Linked DNA regions of Homo sapiens: regions 2 and 3 are each linked to region 1. Evidence: promoter capture Hi-C in 16 types of primary human blood cells and fetal thymus (Javierre and others, 2016). All regions are on one chromosome and are shown on one strand. Each heading gives the region's core, a stretch centred on a gene start or on the middle of the fragment in contact. The rest is flanking DNA. Distances are from core to core; before and after follow the strand shown. Region 1 holds the start of KRI1 (KRI1 homolog). Region 2 has its middle 8.3 kb from the start of LDLR. Region 3 overlaps EPOR (erythropoietin receptor).

What was found. The method cuts DNA at HindIII sites, captures the fragments that hold promoters and counts their contacts. A CHiCAGO score of 5 or more calls a contact.
Region 2: a fragment that was not itself captured here is called in contact with the fragment with the promoter of KRI1 in region 1 in 1 of 17 cell types (neutrophils); the score reaches 6.0 in neutrophils.
Region 3: a fragment that was not itself captured here is called in contact with the fragment with the promoter of KRI1 in region 1 in 2 of 17 cell types (fetal thymus and non-activated CD4 T cells); the score reaches 7.3 in fetal thymus.

The regions. Positions count from the first base shown.
Region 1 is chr19:10,564,584-10,568,198 of GRCh38, reverse strand. It overlaps KRI1 (KRI1 homolog), which reads left to right and starts at 2,189. Exons shown (of 19, transcript NM_023008.5): 1 at 2,189-2,293; 2 at 2,409-2,482; 3 at 3,165-3,270. The coding sequence starts at 2,200. CDKN2D (cyclin dependent kinase inhibitor 2D) reads left to right here. Exons shown (of 2, transcript NM_001800.4): 2 at 782-1,739. The coding sequence ends at 1,141. RefSeq lists enhancers at 1-53, 493-1,000, 1,949-2,516, 2,719-2,768, 2,517-3,084 and a silencer at 1,919-2,448. The HindIII fragment of the contact is 9,818 bases long and covers 1,616-3,615 here.
Region 2 is chr19:11,079,216-11,083,040 of GRCh38, reverse strand. No RefSeq gene overlaps it. Among named protein-coding and RNA genes, the nearest start is that of LDLR, 8.3 kb to the left of the region's middle. The HindIII fragment of the contact is 2,798 bases long and covers 84-2,881 here.
Region 3 is chr19:11,376,457-11,379,943 of GRCh38, reverse strand. EPOR (erythropoietin receptor) reads left to right here. Exons shown (of 8, transcript NM_000121.4): 7 at 1,166-1,253; 8 at 1,349-2,737. The coding sequence ends at 1,960. Among named protein-coding and RNA genes, the nearest start is that of SWSAP1, 3.5 kb to the right of the region's middle. The HindIII fragment of the contact is 5,258 bases long and covers 1-3,487 here.

The DNA of each region.
Region 1 (3,615 bases), core at 940-3,439:
CATGGGGACGGCTCACGTTTCTTGGGGCTTCTATGGGGAGATCCGATCTCTGGAAGGAGAGGTCCTGTCTCTAGGGGTTCCTCATTTTGTAGGGGGCTCTCTGAGACAAATCTGGTTACTTGGGGGTGGGGTCTTCATTCCTAAAGGTTATGCGGATCCTTGATATAGTATGGGGGCCCCAATGGAGGAACAATGTCAGATTGCAAGACATCCCTATATTCCCTGGGAGACATTTTACAGGGAAGTCTCGTTTCTCTTTTATTATTACTTTTGGAATCCCGCTTCTTGAAAGGAGCTCTCAGGTACTCTGAGGTGACATCACCATTATGTAGGAGGAGGCTATTTCCTGGAGAAGGGGTTCGCTTTCCTTTGACATCTTTTTTCCCTTATGAGGACTATCAATTCTTTGGGGGTAGTTCTCCATCTCTGGGGGCCCATTTCCTGGAGGGGATTTTCTGTTTCCTGGTGATTGCCCATATCTGGGGGCGTCTTTGGTCCCTTGGGGGAGAGTCTTAGGTTCCTTGAAAGTTTCCATGGGGGGCTGTTCTCTGGGTTGGGGGGTCTCATTCTTAAGGGAGTGACCAGCTTTTGGGGGGGGTCCCTATTCCCAGAAGAACTTTCCTGGGGGCTTATGCAGCTTCTCCGTTCACTAGAGGACCCCTCCTCTAGCATTTCCTGTTTCTGGGAGATGCCTCTTTCTGGATGACCCTTCTCTTTCCAGTGACCCCTTTTGTGGAACCTCCTCCCTTGAGGACCTCCTGATCCTCTGTCCCTCACACAGGTCATGATGTTTGGCAGCACCGCCATCGCCCTGGAGCTGCTGAAGCAAGGTGCCAGCCCCAATGTCCAGGACACCTCCGGTACCAGTCCAGTCCATGACGCAGCCCGCACTGGATTCCTGGACACCCTGAAGGTCCTAGTGGAGCACGGGGCTGATGTCAACGTGCCTGATGGCACCGGGGCACTTCCAATCCATCTGGCAGTTCAAGAGGGTCACACTGCTGTGGTCAGCTTTCTGGCAGCTGAATCTGATCTCCATCGCAGGGACGCCAGGGGTCTCACACCCTTGGAGCTGGCACTGCAGAGAGGGGCTCAGGACCTCGTGGACATCCTGCAGGGCCACATGGTGGCCCCGCTGTGATCTGGGGTCACCCTCTCCAGCAAGAGAACCCCGTGGGGTTATGTATCAGAAGAGAGGGGAAGAAACACTTTCTCTTCTTGTTTCTCCTGCCCACTGCTGCAGTAGGGGAGGAGCACAGTTTGTGGCTTATAGGTGTTGGTTTTGGGGGTGTGAGTGTTTGGGGGACGTTTCTCATTTGTTTTTCTCACTCCTTTTGGTGTGTTGGACAGAGAAGGGCTCCTGCAGGCCACAGCCACCTAAACGGTTCAGTTTCTTCTGCGCCTCAGGCTGCTGGGGCCTCAGACGAGACCCAAGGGCAGAGCATTTAAGAGTGAAGTCATGACCTCCAGGGAGCCTAGAAGCTGGTGGCCTTGGCCGGCTGTGCTCAGAGACCTGAAGTGTGCACGTTGCTTCAGGCATGGGGGGTGGGGGGAGCGTCCCAAATCAATAAGAAGGTAGAATGAGTTATGAGTTATTCATATTCTGTTGGAAGCTTGTTTTCCAGTCTCTTGTACAGCGTTTTAAAAGAAATGGATTCTATTTATTATGCTTTATTGGAAAAAATGTTGTAATAATTTAATGTTTTTACCCATTAAATTAAGACTTGTGCATGATCACAGCACGGGTGGCTTCTGATTTTTGAGTCTGGGATGGAGAGTTACACATCCCGGATGTTGATGGGGATGAGGACGGGGGTCGCGGATCGTGGATGTGGTGGGTGAGGGGAGAGAATAGTAATTCCCAGGGCGCCAGGGTGAGTGAGCTGGGTGGGGCAGCGGTTTTCGCTGTCGGAACGGAAGGGAAGCAGGAAACCGCGAGTGGAGAAAGGGCCCCCAGATGTCAGCTGGGTGCCCGGAGCACAGGGGGTGGGGCGGGTGGGCGGTGGCCGCGGCCTTCCCCGCAGGGGCGTAGCCGTGGGCGGTGACTGCGGTGATGAGGCGAAAGGGATCCCGGAAAAGCCAGGGGCGGGGTTAGCAGCGGTACGCCTCGTTTACAAGTGGATGCGGGCGGGACTGAGGGCGGCCCCGCCCCGTCCAGGGCTTCCTCAATGCGCGTGCGCAATGGGCCACAGAACCGCCATGCCGGAACCGCGCGGGTCGTCGCAGCTGCGGGTGAACGCGGCGTTTGCCGCGCGGTACAACCGCTACCGGGAGCGCGAGGAACTGCAGCGGCGTGAGTGCGGGGCGCATGCGCGCGGGAGCCTGCGCGCGCCGGCCGGTTGGGAAGTGGGGAGTCGAGTGGCCCCGCCGGCTGACCTGGGGGGGGGCATCCCGTCTGTGTCCCGCAGTGAAGGATCGCTACGGGGACCGAGACAGCAGCAGCGACTCCAGCTCCGAGTCGGACTCAAGCGACGAGCGCGTGGTGCGCGTCCCCGCCCCGTCCTGGACGTGCGGAGGCGTCCAAGCCCCCCTCTGCACCCCGACCCCGATGTAGACGGGGGGGAACCCCCAACCCCAGAGCGCCCTGCGGGAGCGTCCCATCCTCCGCTCCCCATCCCATGAGGGACAGACAGTGCCCCCCCTCTCCCCAGGGGAGCCAAATCCCCGTTATTTTCTCTCCCCTGCCACGATCCCCACCTGCCCACTCTGATGTGTGGGGCGACTCTGTCCCCCAAGAACCCCCCCTTTCCTCTTTCATCCTCAAGAGTCTAGCCATTTTTTAGTGTACTCCTTGCGCCACGTGGGGCGCCCAACTTCTCACATCAGCCCTGATCCTGGCCCCACTGTGCGGCCTGGCCCAGCCCCTCCCCGCTGTCTCTCTTGTGCCCTCAGCCCACCTGCCCCTTGTCAAGTCTTTGTCTTCCCCAGGAATTACCTTCTCCTTGCCCCTCACCTTCCTCTACCCATATCCTGTACCTACCTGTGGCCTGCCCCTGCCCACCCCAAGAGGGCCCCTCTCCCTCCTGCTGTTTGACCACCTGTTTGACCTCCCCAGCCAGATCCACCCCCCTCCATCCTAATCCCTACGCTGAGCTCACCTGCTGGCGCCAGGGCTCTTATTATCTCCCTTCTGAAATCTATCCCCAACCCTTTTCCTGCCCTAGGAATTTGATCCCCAGCAGGAGCGGGACTTTTACAAAACGCTCTCCTTGTTGAAGAAGAAGGACCCCCGCATTTATCAGAAAGATGCCACCTTCTATAACAGAACAGGTCCGGGGCCACTCCTGTCTAAACCTCTCCTTCCTCTGGAGCAGAATCCGGGGTCCTTTCCTGACTGTGGATTCAGAGAAGTGACTTGACTTCTCTGAGCCTCTTTTCCTGTCTGTAAAGTATATCTAACGGTAGCATCTCCCCTCAGGGCTGTTTTAAGGATAGATTGGGATTTACCCAGTTTACACAGTTCATCTGTTTTGACTATTGAATGAATTGCTTCACAAGTCACAAGTCCTTAGCAGAGCCTAGGTTATTACCTGGTGGTGGAGTTAATGACTGTGTCCTTGGCACTATTCAAGGTGGGAATTGCTGACTGAATGATTCCAACTCCACCAGGCTGGG
Region 2 (3,825 bases), core at 233-2,732, 520 kb before region 1:
AGAAATTCCACATCTGAAATATCCCCAAAAGCATTGAAAGCAGAGACCCAAAGATATATGTGTATACCATGTACATAGAAGCTTCTTCAAAATGGCCAAAGGTGGAATCAACCCAAGTGTCCATCAGGATAAACAAAATATGACATATTAATATAATAGAATAAAATTTAGCCTTAAAAACAAGGAAATTCAGGCATCCTCCAACATGGATAAACCTTGAGGATATAAGGCCGGGTGAAATAAGCCAGCCACAAAAGGACAAACAGGTTTGACTCCACTTCTATTAGGTCCTAGAATAGGCAAATTCATACAAAAAGTAGACAAAAAGTAGAATAGTGATTACCAGGGGCTGAGAGGAAGAACGGGAAATTGGGTATGGGGTTTTCACTTTGCAAGATGAAAAACTTCTGCAGGTGAGTAGTGGTGACAGTTGAACAACAATGTGAGTATACTTTAATGCCTCTGAACTTGAAAATGGTTAATATGGTAAATTTTAGGGCTGAGCGTGGTGGCTCCTGCCTGTAATCCCAGCACTTTGGGAGGCCGAGGGGGGCGGATCACTTGAGGTCAGGAGTTTGCGACCAGCTTGGCCAACTTGGCGTAACCCCGTCTCTACTAAAAATACAAAATTAGCCGGGTATGGTGGCAAGCACCTGTAATCCCAGCTACTCGGGAGGCTGAGGCAGGAAAATCGCTTGAACCCAGGAGGCAGAGGCTGCAGTGAGCCAAGATCATGCCACTGCACTCCAACCTGGGCAACAGAGTGAGACCCTGTCTCAAAAAAAAAAAGGGTAAATTTTATATCTATTTTGCTACAATAAAAAGATTTAAAAAAAAAAAGCAAAAGGGCTCAAAAGGTGGACACATGGAAAAACCTCCATCCCATGCAGGTCCCCTGCCCTCTGACAATTAAGACTGCTGACCTTTTTTGTTTTTTTTTGAGACGGAGTCCTGTTCTGTCACCCAGGCTGCAGTGCAATGGCACAGTCTCGGCTCACTGCAACCTCTGCCTCCCGAGTTCAAGCGATTCTCCTGCCTCAGGTTCCAAAGTAGCTGGGACTACAGGCACATGCCACCGTACCCGGCTAATTTTTGTATTTTTAGTAAAGATGAGGTTTCACTATATTGGTCAGGCTGATCTAGAACTCCTGACCTTGTGATCCGTCCGCGTTGGCATCCCAAAGTGCTGAGATTACAGGCGTGAGCCACCACGCCTGGCCAGGACTGCTAACCTTTTAAGCATATCCTTCTAGAACATTCTAAGCATATACAAGGAGGAGAGTATATCATATTCCCCTCCATTTCCCCCTGTACATTGTAGTACCCATTCATACTGCTCTATACCCTCTGGTTTCATTTATTGAGGTATCTTAAAGAATGTTCCAGGGGAAAAAAAAAAGAATGTTCTGGAACAACAGAAATCAGACTATGGATGGACAGGATTTCCGCAGGTAGGAGCAGCGCCGAGGTGGAAATGGCAGATCAGTGAAAGCTGGCTGAGGCAAGGCATATGTGTGGAACGCTGGGAGGTTGAAATAAAATTGGGAGAGACACTTTCACATCCCCTGGGAATGAAAGAAACTATTTTTGGGGCAGTGAGAAGACTTTGAAAAAAAAAATTAGAGTTCTTATGCGGGTGCATGACTTCTCGGTTCGGTCATGGGAGTGGGGCTACCAGAGGGAAAGGAGACTGATCAATCAGGTTGGGACTTGGGGTGAGGTGGGGCGAGGACAGCAGGACAGAGGAAAAAGTATACACCTCTTACGTTAGACTTTATATTTATCTCTCGAGCAGGTCATTATTTGAATCATTAAATTAAACTTTCTTTCTTTTTTTTTTTTTGAGACAAGAGTCTTACTCTGTCACCCAGTGGCGCAATCTCAGTTCACTGCAACTTCCATCTCCCAGGTTGAAGCGATTCTCCTGCCTCAGCCTTCCGAGTAGCTGGGACTACACCCGGCTACTTTTTGTATTTTTAGTAGAGACGGGGTTTCACCATGTTTGTTGGCCAGGCTGGTCTTGAACTCCTGACCTCAAGAGATCTACCCACCTTGGCCTCCCAAAGTGCTGGGATTACAGGTGTGAGCCACCGTGCCCGAACTTTTTTATGTTTTTTTTGTTGTTGTTGCTGTTGTTGTTTCTTTTTTGAGACGGAGTCTTGCTCTGTTGCCAGGCTGGAATGCAGTGGCACAATCTCCTCTCGCTGCAACCTCTGACTCCCTGGTTCAAGTGATTCTCCTGCCTCAGCCTCCCGAGTAGCTGGGATTACAGGTATACGCCACCACGCCCAGCTAATTTTTGTGTTTTCAGTAGAGACAGGGTTTCATCATGTTGGCCAGGATGGCCTCGATCTCCTGACCTCGTGGTCTGCCCACCCCAGCCTCCCAAAGTGCTGGGATTACAGGCGTGAGCCACCGCGTCCGGCCTTATTTTTTTATTTTTATTTTTTTGAGGCAGCCTCTTTCTCTGTCACCCAGACTGGAGTGTAGTAGTTCAATCGTAGCTCATTGCAGCTCAACCTCCTGGGCTCAAGAGATCCTCCTGCTTCAGCCTCCAAAAAAGCTAAAACTAGAGGCATACACCACCATATCTACCTAATTTTTAAATTTTTTGTAGCGACAGGGTCTCACTATGTGGCCCAGACTGGTCTTGAACTCCTGGACTCAAGCAATCCTCCTGCCTGGGTCTTCCAAAGTCCTGGGATTATAGGCGTGAGCCAACATACCCGGCCGTAAAAATTTCATTCATGAAGTGTCCTTGTCTTCTCATCGTTTATGAATTGTATCTGTGTGAAACACATTGTTTACAGACTACTCCTAGTTAGATTTCACGAATGATTTCTGGAAATATCTAGAATGATCTGGAAGAGTCTGGAAAGCTTTGGAGGGATGGGAAGTCTGGCCAAAATTAGGAAGAGTCAGATTTCCATCTTGATTACGTTGCTTCTGTGACCTTCCTCGGACGAATCATTTCTTTCTGGGTCTTCTATTTACTCTTCATTCAAGCAACTTTTCTTGGCCAGGCGCAGGGGTTCACACCTGTAATCCCAGCACTCTGGGAGGCCGAGGCAGGTGGATCACGTGAGGTCAGGAGTTTGAGACCAGCCTGGCCAACATGGTGAAACCGCATCTCTACTAAAAATACAAAAATTAGCCAGGCATGGTGGCGGGCGCGTATAATCCTAGCTACTTGGAAGGCTGAGGCAGGAGAATCACTTGAACCCGGGAGACAGAGCTTGCAGCTTTTTTTTTTTTTTTTCTTGCGATGGAGTCTCACTCTTTTGCCCAGGCTAGAGTGCAGTGGCGCGATCTCAGCTCACTGCAAGCTCCACCTCCCGGGATGAAGCGATTCTCCTGCCTCAGCCTCCAGAGTAGCTGGGATTACAGGCATGCAGCATCATGCCCGGCTAATTTTTGTATTTTTAGTAGAGACGGGGTTTCACCATGTTGGCCAGGCTGGTCTCGAATCCCTGACCTCGTGATCTGCCCGCCTCATCTTCCCAGTGTTGGGATTACAGGTGTGAGCCACCATGCCCGGCCATATTTTTATTTTTATTTATTTTTATTTATCTGCTTTTGGGACAGAGTCTTGTTCTGCAGTCCAGGTTGGAGTGCAGTGGCGCAATCTCGGCTCACTGCAACCTCTGCCTCCAGGGTTCAAGCAATTCTCCTTCCTCAGCCTCCCGAGTAGCTGGGATTACAGGTGCCCGCCACCATGCCCAGCTAATTTTTGTATGTTTAGTAGAGACGGGGTTTCATCATATTGGTCAGGCTGGTCTAGAACGCCGGACCTCAGGTGGTCTGCCCACCTCAGCCCCCCAAAGT
Region 3 (3,487 bases), core at 870-3,369, 810 kb before region 1:
AGATCACCTGAGGTTGGGAGTTCGCGACCAGCCTGACCAACATGGAGAAACCCCACCTCTACTAAAAATACAAAACTAGCCAAGCGTGGTGGCACATGCCTGTAATCCCCGCTACTCGGGAGGCTGAGGCAGGAGAATCACTTGAACCTGGGAGGTGGAGGTTGCGGGTGAGCCGAGATCGTGCCATCGCATTCCAGCCTGGGCAATAAGAGTGAAACTCCGTCTCAAAAAAAAAAAAAAAATTGCCACATGGCTAGAGTGGTATGTAAGGGGGTGTGGCAGATATTGAGATGAGGGAGGTGACAGGGGTCATATAACGCAGGGCCTTCTGCAGGGTGGTGGGGAGGAGTTTGGAATTTTTTTTTTTTTTGAGACAGAGTCACTCTTGTCGCCCAAGCTGTAGTGCAGTGCAGCAGTCTTGGCTCACTGCAATCTCTGCCTCCCAGGTTCAAGTGATTCTCCTGCCTCAACCGCCTGAGTAGCTGAGATTACAGGCGTGCATGCCCGGCTAATTTTGTAGTTTTAGTAGAGACGGGGTTCCACCATGTTGGCCAGGCTGGTCTCAAACTCCTGACCTCAGGTGATCTGCTCACATCAGCCTCTCAAAGTGCTGGGATTATAGGCATGAGCCACCGTGCCTGGCTTGGATTTTATCCTAAATGCCTTCTCTCATTACCCCAGAAGGTAACATAATATTTATCTATGAAGTGACATCATGGACCTCCTGGAAAAATCTGGGCCAGGGTTTTGGGTTTTTTAATTTATTTTATTTTATTTTTTTTAGAGATGGGGGTCTCACTATGTTTCCTAGGCTGGTCTTGAACTCCTGGGTTCAAATGATCCTCCCACCTCAGCCTCCCAAAGTACTGGGATTATAGTGCTGGTGTAAACCACTGCACCTGGCCATGGCCAGGATTAAAGGGAGAATGACCAAGGTATATTGAACTCCTATGCACCCTTCAATACCCTGTTCCATTTACCCTTTTGTAGGGCCTTGCTGATGCTTCAGCCAAAACCCCTGTCCCCTGGCCCTGATGTACTCCTCTGCCTCCATTGTGATCACAGGGACCAAGTGTATCTGTGCCTCTATGACTGGGAGTGGAGGGGGAATTGGTGAGTATTCAATGAGTCATATCTATGTAACTATTTATATTGGCTTCAACAGGGCTCTGAAGCAGAAGATCTGGCCTGGCATCCCGAGCCCAGAGAGCGAGTTTGAAGGCCTCTTCACCACCCACAAGGGTAACTTCCAGGTAGGTGGCCTGGTTGTCCCCTCAGTGCCTGGGCTTCCCTGCTTCTTGCAGCCAAACTGCAGGCCTCTCTGAGCAGGTTGGTGCTATTTCTTCAGCTGTGGCTGTACCAGAATGATGGCTGCCTGTGGTGGAGCCCCTGCACCCCCTTCACGGAGGACCCACCTGCTTCCCTGGAAGTCCTCTCAGAGCGCTGCTGGGGGACGATGCAGGCAGTGGAGCCGGGGACAGATGATGAGGGCCCCCTGCTGGAGCCAGTGGGCAGTGAGCATGCCCAGGATACCTATCTGGTGCTGGACAAATGGTTGCTGCCCCGGAACCCGCCCAGTGAGGACCTCCCAGGGCCTGGTGGCAGTGTGGACATAGTGGCCATGGATGAAGGCTCAGAAGCATCCTCCTGCTCATCTGCTTTGGCCTCGAAGCCCAGCCCAGAGGGAGCCTCTGCTGCCAGCTTTGAGTACACTATCCTGGACCCCAGCTCCCAGCTCTTGCGTCCATGGACACTGTGCCCTGAGCTGCCCCCTACCCCACCCCACCTAAAGTACCTGTACCTTGTGGTATCTGACTCTGGCATCTCAACTGACTACAGCTCAGGGGACTCCCAGGGAGCCCAAGGGGGCTTATCCGATGGCCCCTACTCCAACCCTTATGAGAACAGCCTTATCCCAGCCGCTGAGCCTCTGCCCCCCAGCTATGTGGCTTGCTCTTAGGACACCAGGCTGCAGATGATCAGGGATCCAATATGACTCAGAGAACCAGTGCAGACTCAAGACTTATGGAACAGGGATGGCGAGGCCTCTCTCAGGAGCAGGGGCATTGCTGATTTTGTCTGCCCAATCCATCCTGCTCAGGAAACCACAACCTTGCAGTATTTTTAAATATGTATAGTTTTTTTTTGTATCTATATATATATATACACATATGTATGTAAGTTTTTCTACCATGATTTCTACAAACACCCTTTAAGTCCCATCTTCCCCTGGGCATAGGCCATAGGGATAGAAGTTAAAGTTCTTGAGCTTATTCAGAAGCTGGATCTGCAATCTGAATGCTACTCATAACATAACAAAATAGTATGTTAAACAGCTCTTAAATCTTACTGGCTTACCACATTAAATGATTTCTCTCTCCTAACTCAGCTCAAATGGGCAGCCATCCATGGGATGAGTCAGAGGTTCAGACTCTTCCAGTCTGTAGCTCTACCTTCTCTTAGGGTACTTAGATGGATCCCCTGTTCTACAAACTGCCAGTCAGCAAGGGAAGAAAAAGGGCAGCAATGACCCTCAATGGGCCATTTGAGGGATCTGGCCTGGAAATGGGCTTCCTCTCTTCTTCTCACACCTCACTGGCTGGAAACAGTCACATGACCCCAGTCACATGAAAGGCCAGGAAACTTAGTTTAGCTGTACACCCAGGAAGGGCAAAGCTGTTTAAGGGCCACTAGCTAGTCTCTGCCACTAATAATAATAAAAGTAATTCTGAATCAGGCCATGTTCTAAGAAAGTACTCTGATGACACTTGGTGTCAACAAGTAACTCAGTGGGAGTTTTGCTTTAACTACTTCTTTTTTTTTCTGAGACAGGGTCTCACTTTTGCACAGGCTGGAGCCCAGTAGCTCAAACATGGTTCGCTGCAGCCTCGACCTCCTGGGCTCAGGCGATCCTCCTGCCTCAGCTTTTCGAGTAGCTGGGACTACTGGCGTGCACCACCAAGCCTGACTGATTTTTTTTTTTTTTTTTTTTGAGACAGAGTCTCGTCTTCATCACCCAGGCTGGAGTGCAGTGGCTCGATCTCAGCTCACTGCAACCTCTGCCTCCCGGGTTCAAGCAATTCTCCTGTCTCAGCCTCCCAAGTAGCTGGGAGTACAAGTGCATGCCACCATGCCTGGCTAAATTTTGTATTTTTAGTAGAGACGGGGTTTCACCATGTAGGCCGGGCTGACCTCGAACTCCTGACCTCAGGTGATCCACCTGTCTCGGCCCCTAAAAACACACACACGTACCAGGGCATGTGTGCAAGAATGTTCGCAGCAGTAAATAAGGCAATCTGATGAAGAAATCAGGGTATAGTCACCCATGGAATTATATGCAATATGGAAAAAGGAATGAACTAAAAAAATGTAGATGAATCTTAGTAACAACGTTGAGTGCAAAAAGAAGGAAGTCTCAAACTTTTTTTTTTTTTTTTTTTTGAGATGGAGTCTCGCTTTGTCACCCAGGCTGGAGTGTAGTGGCACA